2 separate regions of the Homo sapiens genome follow, and region 1 is linked to region 2. The links are contacts of gene promoters, found by promoter capture Hi-C in human tissues and cell types (Jung and others, 2019). All regions are on one chromosome and are shown on one strand. The core of a region is centred on a gene start or on the middle of the fragment in contact, and the rest is flanking DNA. Distances in the headings are between cores, read along the strand shown.

What was found. The method cuts DNA at HindIII sites, captures the fragments that hold promoters and counts their contacts. A contact is called where the count stands out against the background at its distance.
Region 1: the fragment with the promoter of MIER2 here is called in contact with a fragment that was not itself captured in region 2 in 3 of the 25 tissues and cell types used here (IMR-90 fibroblasts, dorsolateral prefrontal cortex and lymphoblastoid cells).

The regions. Positions count from the first base shown.
Region 1 is chr19:342,360-349,294 of GRCh38, reverse strand. It overlaps MIER2 (MIER family member 2), which reads left to right and starts at 4,499. Exons shown (of 14, transcript NM_017550.3): 1 at 4,499-4,521. The coding sequence starts at 4,513. RefSeq lists silencers at 4,155-4,604, 4,675-4,724, 5,025-5,134 and an enhancer at 5,443-6,394. The HindIII fragment of the contact is 27,379 bases long and covers 1-6,353 here.
Region 2 is chr19:513,190-519,786 of GRCh38, reverse strand. It overlaps TPGS1 (tubulin polyglutamylase complex subunit 1), which reads right to left. Exons shown (of 2, transcript NM_033513.3): 2 at 133-898. The coding sequence ends at 364. Among named protein-coding and RNA genes, the nearest start is that of MADCAM1-AS1, 8.6 kb to the right of the region's middle. RefSeq lists an enhancer at 423-1,329. The HindIII fragment of the contact is 7,591 bases long and covers 1,308-6,597 here.

The DNA.
Region 1 (6,935 bases), core at 3,250-5,749, 170 kb after region 2:
CAGAGACCAGGCTCTCACCAGACACCAAAACTGCCGGCGCCTTGATCAAGGCTTTCCAGCCTCCAGAACTGTGATAAATAAATGTGTTCTTAAAATATGTATATATAAACTACCTCATCCGTGGTGCTTTATTACAGCAGCACGAATAGACTAAGTTTTTTTTTTTTTTTTGAGACGGAGTCTCGCTCTGTCGCCCAGGCTGGAGTGCAGTGGCGCGATCTCGGCTCACTGCAAGCTCCGCCTCCCAGGTTCACGCCATTCTCCTGCCTCAGCCTCCCGAGTAGCTGGGATTACAGGCGCCCGCCACCACGCCCGGCTAATCTTTGTATTTTTAGTAGAGATGGGGTTTCACCGGGTTGGCCAGGCTGGTCTTGATCTCTTGACCTTGTGATCCGCCCGCCTCGGCCTCCCAAAGTGCTGGGATTACAGGCGTGAGCCACCACGCCGGGCCTTGTTTGTTTTTTTAAACCTTTCAAAATGTGACTCATGTTTTGTGGCACGGGTTAGGTCTCCAGGAAATAGACTGCGAGACAAAGATTATGTGCAGGAATATTGTCGGGGTTACCCTTGGGGTCAACACCTGTCAGAGAGTGAAGGAAGCAGGGCTGGAGGGAGGGAGGAGCGAGCTGAGATGACCAAGCCGCCTCCAATCCTACAGGAGCTCTGCAGCCTCACGGTTGACCCCAGTTGGTCACAGGTGCCTGGGTCTTTATGGATCTGTACCAGCCAGTCGCTGATGTGGGCCGCCCCTCAGAGGGATACTTGACCCTGAGCAGAGGGGGAAGTTAGTGCTTGTGTAGGGGAGGGTTTGATGATGCACCCAGCATCCACCACAGGCCACCCCATGCACTACTCACAGCTCCTCCAGTATCTTGTGAGGCCTCTTTTTTCTAGGGAAAATTTGCAAGAACGACACTGCTTGGGTGAACTACAGCGTCCCCTGCCTCCCCGCCTCGGGGCTGCAATGGATTCATCACCCCCAGCTCCACCACGCAGTCTCCATCTGCTCCAAGAGGTGTAGCGATGCGGTGACCTGGACCCTCATCCCGGGACACCATGCCTCTGTCAAACTTGGGAGCTGCCCGGTGACCATGAAAACCAGGCAGAGAAGAAACAGGGAGCCTGGAGTGGAGGCACATGCAGGCGTATCTCCTCCAACGTGAGGTGTCCACTCAAACCACTGTGCCACGGCCAGGGGCACCCTCTCCAGCCTCTCCCCTTAAGCTCCCTGCTCAAGATTCGCTGCTCTTTATTTTCTGAGTTTTACTTCATTTTATGCTCATGGAATAATTGCAAGAATGAGTATAGTAGAAACCCTCCGTACTGGCCGGGTGCTATGGCTCACGCCTGTAATCCCAGCACTTTGGGAGGGTGAGGTGGGTGGATCACGAGGTCAACAGATCGAGACCATCCTGGCCAACATGGTGAAACCCCATCTCTACTAAAAATACAAAAATTAGCCAGGTGCGGCACATGCCTGCAGTCCCAGCTACTCCAGAGGCTGAGCCAGGAGAATGGCGTGAACCCGGGAGGTGGGGCTTGCAGTGAGCCAAGATTGTGCCACTGCACTCCAGCCTGGGCAACAGAGCGAGAATCCATCTCAAAAAAAAAAAAAAAAAAAAAAAGATTTACACAGGTTTATCTTTTCTGGCATTAACTTTTTTTTGTTGTTGTCGCTGTGGTTTTTTTTTTTTTTTTGAGACGGAGTCTTGCTCTGTCGCCCAGGCTGGAATGCAATGGTGCCATCTCGGCTCACTGCAGCCTCCACCTCCCGGTTTCAAGCGATTCTCTTGCCTCAGCCTCCCGAGTAGTTGGGACTACAGGTGTGCACCACCACGCCCGGCTAATTTTTTGTATTATTTTAGTAGAGATCAGGTTTCACCATGCTAGCTAGGCTGGTCTTGAACTCCTGACCTCGTGATCTTCCTGCTTCAGCCTCCCAAAGTGCTGGGATTACAGGTGTGAGCCACAGCGCCTGGCCTGTTTTGTTTTGAGATGGAGTTTTGCTCTTGTCGCCCAGGCTGGAGTGTAGTGGCGCAATCTCAGCTCACTGCAACCTCCGCCTCTCGGGTTCAAGTGATTCTCCTGCCTCAGCCTCCTGAGCAGCTGGGATTACAGGCACCCGCCACCACGCCCCATTGTGGCATTAACATTTCTGAAGAATACAGTCCCTCTTTTGTTTAACAGAATATTCCTTATTTGGGTTTGTCTGAAATTTCCTCATATGTAGATATGGGTTGTGCATTGCTGGCTGGATTCAGTGATGCCGTGTCCTGCTTTGGACACCACATCCAGGTGCACATGGTGTGCACCTGCCCTTTACCAGGGATGCTGAGTTTTATCACCCACCCAACAAGTGGCTTCATTTCTCCACTGCGACTAACAGTCTACGGAGACAGACTTTCAGACCTTAAAATATCCTTCACTCTTTTTTTTTTTTTTTTTTGAGACAGGTCTCACTCTGTTGCCCAGGCTGGGGTGCAGTGGCACAATCACTGCTTACCGCAGCCTCGACCTCCTGGGCTCAAGAGATCCTCCCACTTCGGCCTCCAGAGTAGCTGGGACTACAGGCACATTATCGTCATGCCCTCTAATGTTTAAAGTTTTTTTTTTTTTTTTTTGAAACAGTGTCTCACTCTGTTTCCCAGGCTGGAGTGCAGTGATCTTAGCTCACTGCAACCTCTGCCTTCCCAGGTTCAAGTGATTCTCTTGCCTTAGCCTCCACAGAATAGCTGGGATTATGGGCACTCGCCACCACGCCCGGATAATTTTTGTATTTTTAGTAGAGACAGGGTTTCACCCTGTTGCCCAGGCTGGTCTCAAACTCCTGACCTCAAGTGATCCTCCTGCCTCTGCCTCCCCAAGTGTTAGGATTAGAGGTGTGAGTCACCGTTCCAAGCCACAATACCCTTCTCTTCACCCAAGTCCTCATTTGACATCTATGTGATGATTCTTGCCAAGCCCTCTCCTAAGAGTCTTCCCTCGTTTTGCCAGGTGGACTCAAGCCCTTGTCTTCGGGCCCCTCCACCTGTTACAGCACAGCACCTCACTCTCTTATCTGTTCATGCTTCTCCCTGCTTCACAGGACCTCTGGCTACCCAGCACCCAGTTGAGGACTGCATAAGATATGTGTTTAGTTCACTGAATGACTGAATGAATAATAACAAATGAATAATAAAGGAAGGAACCAACTCTTGCACAAATCAGTGAGGACTCTTCAACACGAGGGCCAGAACCCTCAATCTCAATGATGTAAACCAAAAAAGGAGTGAGGGTAGACCCCTCCAGAGTGGTTCTTCTATCTCTTGGTTGGTGAATTCTCAGAGGACTGAGTAATGATTTTGCATCAGGAATCAAGGCTGATGCATGTCAAGTTCTCACTATTCATTGGCTGATCACTGGGAAACAGGAATGAGACTCATTCTCTTCTTCCTGGTCCCCAATTCCCTTCCTCCTGGTCCCCAATTCCCTTCTTCCTGGTCTCCAGTTCTCTTCTTCCTGGTCTCAGTAGGAACCGCCCTCCACTCATTTGCGCAAGCCAGACATCTGGAGGCCATCCTTCACTCTCTCCAGCTTCCCTCCATCAGCGAGTCTTGTGGTGTCCACCTTCTCAAGTCTCTCTGCACTCTGGTCCAGGCCCCACAGCTCCCACCTGGCCCCTGCCTCTTCACGCCCCACCCCTGCTTCCTATCCTCTCTCTGCATCGTGCGCCCCGAAGATTCACGGCACTTATCCGTCTCAAATTTAAGGTGTGGCGAGTCCTTGCCTTCCCATCCTCCACTCTAAACGCCCTGAAGACAGGCGTTAGGGCTGTCTCCTTCAAACCCTCAGGATCAGAACGTGCACGTGTTCCAGAAATGTTCAATCTGCGAAACGACGGACTGCAGAACCAAATGGCCCTGGGGTCAAGCCCACCTCCCTGCCTCCCGCCTTGGGCTCTCCGGCGCGGGGCCACCGTTTCTAAAACCTCTCCGACTGGTGCGCGTTCGCAAGCTCCCCGATTGGTTCCTCCGCGCGCTAGTTTGCTCATCACGGGTGCGAAAGTGCAGAAAATTCCAGAACCACGCAGCCCGGACACCAATTCTGGCTCTATCACTGACACTCTGGGTGGCCCGTCGCCCTGGGCCTCAGTTTCCTAGTCTGCCACGCGGGGTATTAACAGCGAGCAGCCGAGGGAATGAAGAGGTCACACAGGACCACGTGGTCCCCACGCAGGTGTGATTATCAGGAATTCGTATTTTTATGGAATGCAGTCTCCTCCGCCAAGGCCAAGGCCAAGATCAGGGTCCAGCAGAGACGGCCGGAAAGACACCGCAAGCTCGCCAGAAGCCGCCGGCCACGCTCGGCTGCGCGCCCGCGCCCGCGCCCGCGCACCTACTACGCGCCCGGCCCGCTCTCCGCCCCCTCCAGGCTCCGCCCCCTGCCCCGCCCTCCAGGCTCCACAGCCAATGAGTGCGCGGCCCCTCATCCGGGGATCCCGGCGCGGCCACCGCCTCCCGCGCACACACGGCCATGGCGGAGGTGAGTGAGCGGGCCGGGGGAGCCGGCCCCCCGCCCCCGCGCGTCCGCGCCCCCCGCCGCCGTGGCTCGGCCTCGTCGTGGGCCCCAGGGACGGAGAGCCCCGCTCTGGAGCTCTGAGGCCGGCCGGGGCGCCTGGCCCGTCCGGGGCCGGAGGGGCGCGGGGCTCCATCGGCGGCCGCCCCCGGCCGGCCCCCACCCCCCAACTCCCCCGGCTGCCACATCGCGGGCTGCAGTGCGCATGCGCGGCGGCGCGGGGCGGGCGGGGGCCGGGGTGGGGGAGGGGAGGGACGCGGGGCGGGGCTGGTGTCGGGGGTCCGGTGGGCGCGCGGCTCCGTTCCAGGGTCCGGCTCCGGTTCCCGGCCCCGGCCCGGGCCCCGCGGCGCGCAGGCCTCCCCTCCCGCGCCTTTGCCAACTTTGCCGAGTGCTGGGGCCGCCAGGCGCCCCGCGCTCCCCATCGGGATCCCGGTGGACCCACCGCGCCTCCGCCGCCCGCGAGCCCCCCGGCGGGGCTGGGTCAGACCCCGGGCGGGATTTGAACTCCCGACGCGGACCCGCCTGGCGCGAACTGGGCGCAGGGTGGGTGGGTCTGCCGGGGCCTAGAGAGCGTCGGGGCTGATCTCAGAAGAGTTGGACCAGCCTCTCCCGGGCACGAAGTTACTTCTGGAGCCTCCTCCCTCGTCCAGGAAACAAGCCCGGGACCCTTTATCTGAAATGTTTGGGACCAGCTATATTTTGGAATCCAGAATTTTTCCAATTTGAGGATCTGTGGGATTTTGGACTGTGATGTTTGATCAAACCCACCTAGGACTGTCTAGGATAAGACAACAGATAGCTTCGTGTCAGGTCAAACCAGGAAGGAAGAAACTTTCGCTTTTGAAGCTTTTTTTGATTTTGGAGTGGTGGATGAGCCTGTGTGGACTTGCTTTCACCTTGGAGGGCCCTGGTGAAGATGGAAAGAGATAATGTAGGTGAAGGTGCGGCGGCTGCGAGGTGCTCAGTCAGTGGGACTCAGTGCATGACTTCTGTGCGCAGAAGTTACGACAGGCGGGCAGACTCAAGAGCTGATCCTATCTCTGGGATAGAGCCCAAAGGAAAAGGTGCCCACCCAGCCAGGCACAGCCGCCTCGTGGGAAGCCGGGATTGGAACTGCGGCCTGGCCGTGGTGCCACGTTGCGTGTTTATGTCTTGGGCGTTGTGGGAGGCAGGACTGGCCATTCTCTCCCCCTGGTGACGACCTCAGGGGCAGTAACAGGCCCTGTGTTTATGCCAAAGACGGTGTAGGTGTCTCGATACTAGGCCAGACCACCGGCCAGTTCCTTCATCGAGAATTAGTTCTTCTTGAGACGCTTAGGGAGACTGAGTCCCCATGCAGATGGTGGCTGTCCTCCAGGGTCGGAGGCAGAAGCCGCGTCTCCCAGTGGCCCTGCAGCGACGTGGTGGTCGAATGAGTTGTGCTCCTGGAATCTGGGCAACACACGTGGCCTGACAGGTAGCTCTGTGTCTGGGATGGCACAAGTCAGACTCCCAAGCCAGCCTCCCCCAGAGCTGCCATGTGGCTGTTCTGCCCTGCTCTAGGCTGAGCTCCGTAAATGTGCACAGCAGCTTGTGGTCCGGCTGCTCCTGTTAACCCTGTTTTACACTTTGGGGTGGTGCCCTGTTGAGTGAATTTGATTTGATTTTCTAAGGAGGTCCCGCTCTGTCCTCGGCCTGAGGATCTGGGAGTGAATGGAGCAGACAGGGCCTCTCCTACAGGGATGCAGAGTCTGGTCAGAGAGAGACGTGGGTGGGTTAGGACCAACAAGTATGAGGTGCTGAGCGTGAGGAGCCATGGCAAGCTGTCTGACCACCGGACTTGTTCTGTGTGGTCTTGGGCAGGTTGCCCAGTGACTCAGAACTTCCTTTTCCTCATCTCTGAAATGGGAAGTTTAATGGTCACCCTTCAGAGCTAGGAGGTCTGATGAGGTCCTGCCACAACGGCTTGTACATGGAAGTTGAATCTTGTGAAGTTGACGATATTCCACTGTTTTTAACCCGTAAAAGTGGCAATTTGTAACTTTATAGCACGTGATCAGTACTAGCTACTTTATTCTGTATCAGTATCCCAGAATAATCATAAGCACCACAGTGGCAGACGGGAATGCTTCATACTTTTCTCAGGCATACTAGATTGATCTTTTAAAAACCTAAGAGCACCATCTTTTGCTCCTACCTAAAACCCTCCATGGCTTTTCATGGTCCCTGGGATAAAATGCTCCTCCTTGCTGAGTCCCACAGCCCTGTGAGGTGGTCCCCACGGATCTGCCCCCTACTCTAGGGCCCTGGGCTCCTGTTTGCTGGTGCACTCTACCCATTTGGGGGCTGCCAACGATGGTTCCACCTCGACTGAGGCCCCCCAGGCCTTCCCTGACCCGCAG
Region 2 (6,597 bases), core at 3,854-6,353:
GGGTCCCGGCGTTTCCGGCCTCGAATCCAGCCTCCAGTCGCCGCGGTTCCGGGGCCGTGGGTGACCTGCTGGGGAAAAGCGTCTTCTGCGGGCACCGGGGCTGGGAGGCGGGCGCTCGCATACACACCAGCGTCAGCCTCGCAACACATTTTATTAGCGTGGGGCAGGGGCTCCCGCGGGGGTGGAGGGGCGGCCGCGGCGCTGTGTGGGGACCGGGCGTCCGCTTCCTGGGAGCCCCGGCCTCCTCCGCAGGGCTGGGCGCCTGGTTATGGCAGGGCCTCACCAGGGCGAAGGGAAGGCTCCGCGCGCCCCGCACGCGGGGACCCCCCAGCGCAGATCCCGGATCCGCGCGGCCCACGGGCCTCAGCCCACCGGCTTGACCTTCGCGATGAAGAGCGCGGCGGCCCTCTCCAGAAACTCCTCGCGGGTCATGGGCGCGCTGGGCCGCCGCCCCCCGACGGCGCGGTCCAGCGCCAGCGCCAGGCTGTCGGGCCCCAAGCGCGAGCCGGCCTCCAGGAAGCGCGCGGGCGCGGCGGCGTCGCTGGCCTGCAGCGCGCCCTCCAGGGTGTCCAGCACGGCCTGGCCCACGCGGCGGTCGGCCACGGCGGCGGCCGAGTCCTCCAGCAGCTGGAAGAGCGCGCCGGCGCGCGCCACGAACTCCAGCAGCACGAAGCAGGTGAGTGTGCCCGCGCGGAAGACGCTCAGCGGCACCGCCTCGTGGTCACGGCACTGCACCTTGCGCAGCAGCGGCGCCACCACCTCCTCGGGGGCTTGGCCGTCCCGGCAGATGCGCCTGAGCAGCTCGCTGTAGGTGCGCCCGTCCAGCCCCGGCCTCTTCCTGCGCCCGCCGGCGCTCAGGCACTCGTAGGCCACGCTCACGTTGTTGTTGAAGGCGGCCCTGCGGAGACGGGGACGTTGGGGGCCGGCAGAGACCGCGCGCCCACCCAGCCCCAGCCTCCCCTCCTCGCCAGGCCTATGCCCTAGCCTCCCCGACCCCCCAGCCAGCCCTGGCCTCCCCTCTCCTCCTACCCCCCATCCCCGGCCTCCCCTCCTCCTCACCCTCTATCCCTGAAGCTCCTCTCTTGAGCCCCCGCCTCCCTTCTCCCAGCTAGGGCCTCTCCTCCCCGCAGCATCCCCAGCCCGGGCCTCTCCTCCCCCAAGCATCCCCAGCCCGGGCCTCTCCTCCCCCCAGCATCCCCAGCCCAGGCCTCCCTCCTCCCAGTCCCCTCCCAGCCCAGGCCTCCCTCCCCCAAGCATCCCCAGCCTGGGCCTCTCCTCCCCCAGCATCTCCAGCCCAGGCCTCCTCCTCTCAGCCCCCTCCCAGCCCTGGCCTCTCCTCCCCCCAGTATCCCAAGCCCAGGCCTCCCTCCTCCCAGCCCCTACCCAGCCCGGGCCTCCCTCTTCCCAGCCCCTACTCAACCTGGGCCTCCCCTCCCCACCCCACCAGCACTCCCAGCCTGGGCCTCCCTCCTCCCAGCCCCTACCCAGCCTGGACCTCCCCTCCTCCCAGCTCCCACCCAGCCTGGCCTCCCTCCTCCCAGCCCCTACCCAGCCGGGGCCTCCCTCTTCCCAGCCCCTACTCAACCTGGGCCTCCCCTCCCCACCCCACCAGCACTCCCAGCCTGGGCCTCCCTCCTCCCAGCTCCCACCCAGCCTGGCCTCCTTCCTCCCAGCACCCCCCAGCCCGGGGCTCCCTCCTCCCAGCACCCACCCAGCCAGGCCTTCCTCCTCCCAGCACCCCCTCAGCCTGGGCCTCCCCTCCCCACCAGCACCCCCAGCCTCGGCCTCCTCCCAACCTGGATCTCCCTCCTCCCAGCCTCTACCCAGCCTGGGCCTCCTCCCAACCTGGATCTCCCTCCTCCCAGCCTCTACCCAGCCTGGGCCTCCTCCTCCCAGCCCCCACCCAGCCTGGCCTCCCTCCTCCCAGCACCGCCCAGCCCGGGCCTCCCCTCCCCACCAGCACCCCCAGCCTCGGCCTCCTCCTCCCAACCTGGGTCTCCCTCATCCCCGCCTCCACCCAGCCTGGCCTCCCCCGTCCCAGCCCCTACCCAGCCTCGGCCTCCTCCTCCCAGCACCCCCCAGCCTGGCCTCCCCCCTCCCAGCCCCCACCCAGCCTGGCCTCCGTCCTCCCAGCACCCCCCAGCCTGGGTCTCCCCCCTTCTAGCCCCCACCCAGCCTGGCCTCCCTCCTCCCAGCCCCCACCCATCCTGGCCTCCCCCCTCCCAGCCCCCACCCAGCCTGGCCTCCGTCCTCCCAGCACCCCCCAGCCTGGGCCTCCCCCCTTCCAGCCCCCACCCATCCTGGCCTCCATCCTCCCAGCCCCCACCCAGCCTGGCCAGCCCCCACCCAGCCTGGCCTCCCCCCTCCCAGCCCCCACCCAGCCTGGCCTCCCCCCTCCCAGCCTCCACCCAGCTCAGGCCTCTCCTCCCCGCAGCTCCCATCCAGCCCTGGCTTCCCAGCTCCAACTGGACCGGCCTCAGGGCCTCTGCAAGGGCCGTGACACTGCCTTCCCCCAGATCTCCCTCACCTCCTCCCTGGTCTCCTCCAGGTCTCTCCTCAAATGTCGCCTCCCCTGACCCCTAACTCCTTTCCTCCTGTTTTCTTCCTAGTGGTCATCCTGTCTCACTCGCTGTCCCACATCCCTGTGAGCTTCATGTCTCCCACCAGTGTGAGCACCTGCCCTCCAGGGCCGGAAGTTCGTCTTGGTTATAGCCCTGGTGCCCAGAACACTGCCCTGCCCACAGTAGGTGCTCAGTAAATGTCTTGAATCAACGGCAGGCATCTGTCTGGGGCATCTGGCCCCAGTGAAGAAGGAATTAGTGAAATCAGCTCTAACCTAATAGTAGTAGTCATAGAAATTTTAAAATCCTCTTAAAGTTGCTGCAAAGTGTGACCCCCACCCTTACACTCAAGTTAAAAGAGAATGTTAACAGCCTGTCTTCTCTCTGTAGTCAGTGGACCTTATCTATACTCTCCAACTCCACATTCCTCAGTTTATTACAGGCCCAGCGAGTTCCTGCTTACCTCCCTAGCACGGCTGCAGGGTCACAAAACCGATAAGTTTAGGTTGTAAGACATGTTTTTCTCAAGATGTGAGAAATGTTGGCCAGGCACGGTGGCTCACGCCTGTAATCCCAGCACTTTGGGAGGCCGAGGTGGGAGGATCACAAGGTCAAGAGATTGAGGCCATCCTGGCCAACATGGTGAAACCCCATCTCTACTAAAAATACAAAAATTAGCGGGACGTGGTGGTACACGTCTGTAGTCCCAGCTACTCGGGAGTCTGAGGCAGGAGAATCGCTTGAACCTGGGAGGTGGAGGTTGCGGTGAGCCAAGATGGCGCCACTGCACTCCAGCCTGGGCGACAGAGCGAGACTCCGTCTCAAAAAAAAAAAAAAGAAAAAGAAAAAAGAAATGCTGTAATGCTTAACTGCCTTTGTTTCTCGCCTCTGTAACTTGCTTCCCGCCTCACGTAGTTCCCGCCTTACGATGTTTAAAAATAGGAAAAGCCCTTTGTTCGAGGCTCAGACTTTCTGGATGTATGTCCAGCTGAGCCGGTGATCACCTTGATAAACTCTCCTGAACCTTTTTCGGTCTCTCCACTCTTTGTCCCACAACACCAGGACCCTCTGGTCTCCCTCCCTGCAGCAGCAGCGCCTGTTTACATGTGGCCAAATACTGTGCCCAACATTTAACACAACTGACATTTGTTTTTTTCTTTTCTTTCTTTCTTTCTTCCTTTTTTTTTTTTTTTTGAGACGGAGTCTCGCTCTGTCGCCCGGGCTGGAGTGCAGTGGCGGGATCTCGGCTCACTGCAAGCTCCGCCTCCCGGGTTCACGCCATTCTCCTGCCTCAGCCTCCCAAGTAGCTGGGACTACAGGCGTCCGCCACTATGCCCGGCTAATTTTTTGTATTTTTAGTAGAGACGGGGTTTCACCGTTTTAGCCGGGATGGTCTCGATCTCCTGACCTCGTGATCCACCCGCCTCGGCCTCCCAAAGTGCTGGGATTACAGGCGTGAGCCACCGCGCCCGGCCCTCTTTCTTTTTTTGAGACAGTGTCTCACTCTGTTGTCAGGCTGGAGTGCAGTGGCACAATCTCAGCTCACAGCAACCTCCACCTCCCGGGTTCAAGCGATTCTCCTGCCTCAGCCTCCTGAGCTGCTGGGATTACAGGCGTGTGTTACCACACCCAGCTAATTTTTGTATTTTTAGTAGAGACGGGGTTTCACCATGTCGGCCAGGATGGTCTGGATCTCGAGTGACCTCGTGGTCCGCCCACCTCGGCCTCCCAAAGTGCTGGGATTACAGGTGTGAGCCACTGCGCCCAGTCTGTGCTGAACATTTAACACAGCTGACATTGCATTTTTTCTTTTTTTTTTTTTTTTGAGACAGGGTCTCACTGTGTTGTGCAGGCTGGAGAGCAGTGGTACAATCAGGGCTCACAGCAGCCTCCACCTCCTGGGCTCAAGCGATCCTCCTGCCTCAGCCTCCCAAACTGCTGGGATTACAGGTGACAGTTGCTGCTCGGGGCCAGTGGTGGTATTTCTCTCCCCACAATCCCACAGGCAAGGCCCCACAGTCAGCCTGAGGGTCAAATACGACCTGCTGCCTGCTTTTGTAAATAAAGCTTTATCGGAACATAACCACATCAGTCCGCTGACATGTGGCCTGTGGCAGCTTCCGACCAGAACCGTAGAGCTGAATGTCAGGATGGAGGCTGCCACGCAAAGCTGAAATGTTCACTATCTGGCCCCTTACAGAAGAAGGCTGTCAGCCCTGCTGCCGGCTCTGGGGTGGGTTCGATTCCCTGCCCCAGTGAGGAGCCTGAGGCCTTACTACGTGCCACTCGTGTGCTGGTAGTGTGACACACACTCCCGTGGAGGGCACCAGGGAGTGGCCAGGGAGCACCGTGGCCAGCGTGGGGGCCGCTGCAGGACCCTGGGTGGGCTGCTTAACCCCCTGGCCTCACTCCCCCCATCAGTTCCCGGCCAGGCCTCATGCTAGTGGCCTGTTACTTCCTCTGGGACATATAGGGAAACTGAGGCTCAGGGCAGCCCCATGGTCTGGCCAAGGGTCCCAGAGAGGAAGTGGCCAACCTCAGGGCTTACGCTTTTCCCTTCTGGGAGCTCAGCTTCATGGTGAGGAGGGCAGCCTTCCCTCCGGCATGACCTGGGCACACGACTTCACCTTTCTGTGGGCCACCTGTGGTAGGTGCCGGGGAAGTGCTAAGCCAGCATGCAGTAGGTGCTCAGTAAATGCAGGGTTGGTGTGCAGCAGGTGCTCAGTAATGCAGGGCTGGTACACAGTAGGTGCTCAGTGATGCTGGGCCAGAATGCAATAGGTGCTCAGTAAATGTGGGGCTGGTGTGCAATAGGTACTCAGTAATGCTGGGGCGGTGTGCAGTGGGTGCTCAGTAAATGCTGGGCCAGTAAGCAATAGGTGCTTAGTAAACGTGGGGTCGGTGTGCAGTGGGTGCTCAGTAATACAGGGCCGGTGTAGAGTAGGTGCTCAGTGAATGCAGGGCCAGTACACGGTAGGTACTCAGTAATGCTGGGGCGGTGTGCAGTGGGAGTGAAGTAAATGCTGGGCCAGCATGCAATAGGTGCTCAGTAAATGTAGGGTCAGTGTGCAGTGGGTGCTCAGTAATACAGGGCTGGTGTACAGTAGGTGCTTAGTGAATGCAGGGCTGGTACATAGTAGGTGCTCAGCAAATGTGGGGCCAGTGTGCAGTGGGTGCTCAGTAATGCTGGGTCTGTGTACAGTGGGTGCTCAGTAAATGCTGGGCCAGCATGCAATAGGTGCTCAGTAAATGTGGGGCCGGGGCAGGTTGGTGTGCAGCAGGTGCTCAGTAATGCAGGACTAGTGCACAGTAGGTGCTCAGTAATGCTGGGGTTGTGTGCAGTGGGTGCTCACTAAATGCTGGGCCAGGATGCAATAGGTGCTCAGTAAATGTGGGGCCAGTGTGCAGTAGGTGCTCAGTAAATGTGGGGCTGGTGTGCAGTAGGTACTCAGTAATGCTGGGCTGGTGTGCAGTAGGTACTCAGTAATGCTGGGCTGGTGTGCAGTAGGTACTCAGTAATGCTGGGCTGGTGTGCAGTAGGTACTCAGTAATGCAGGGCCAGTATGCAGTAGGTGCTCAGTAATGCTGGGCTGGTGTGCAGTAGGTGTTCAGTAATGCAGGGCCGGCATGCAGTAGGTGCTCAGTAAATGCTGGGCGGGTGCACAGTAGGTGCTCAGTAATGCTGGGCCGGTGCACGGTGGGTGCCTGGTGAACACGTGCCTCCCTGGTCATCACTGCTGCTCAGTTCAGGGCTTAGGGATGGACGTGCCATCTCAGCGAGCTCGAGGGTCAAAGCTCTGCTATGGAGGAGGAAACTGAGGCCCAGAGGCAGGAGGGCAGCGACCTGCAATTCAACTCTAGGCCCATCTGGCTGTACGCTCCTTTTCCCTCCCAAGTAGTAAAGGCCCCATTTGTTGGCCCTTATAATCCGCTGGGCGCTTTTACCATCCATGAGGTCATCCCCAAAATGCGCTGGGGGCAGTCGCAGTGTCAGCGCGGCGGCCCGAGCTCCCATCACGCCTGACCTCTCCGCATG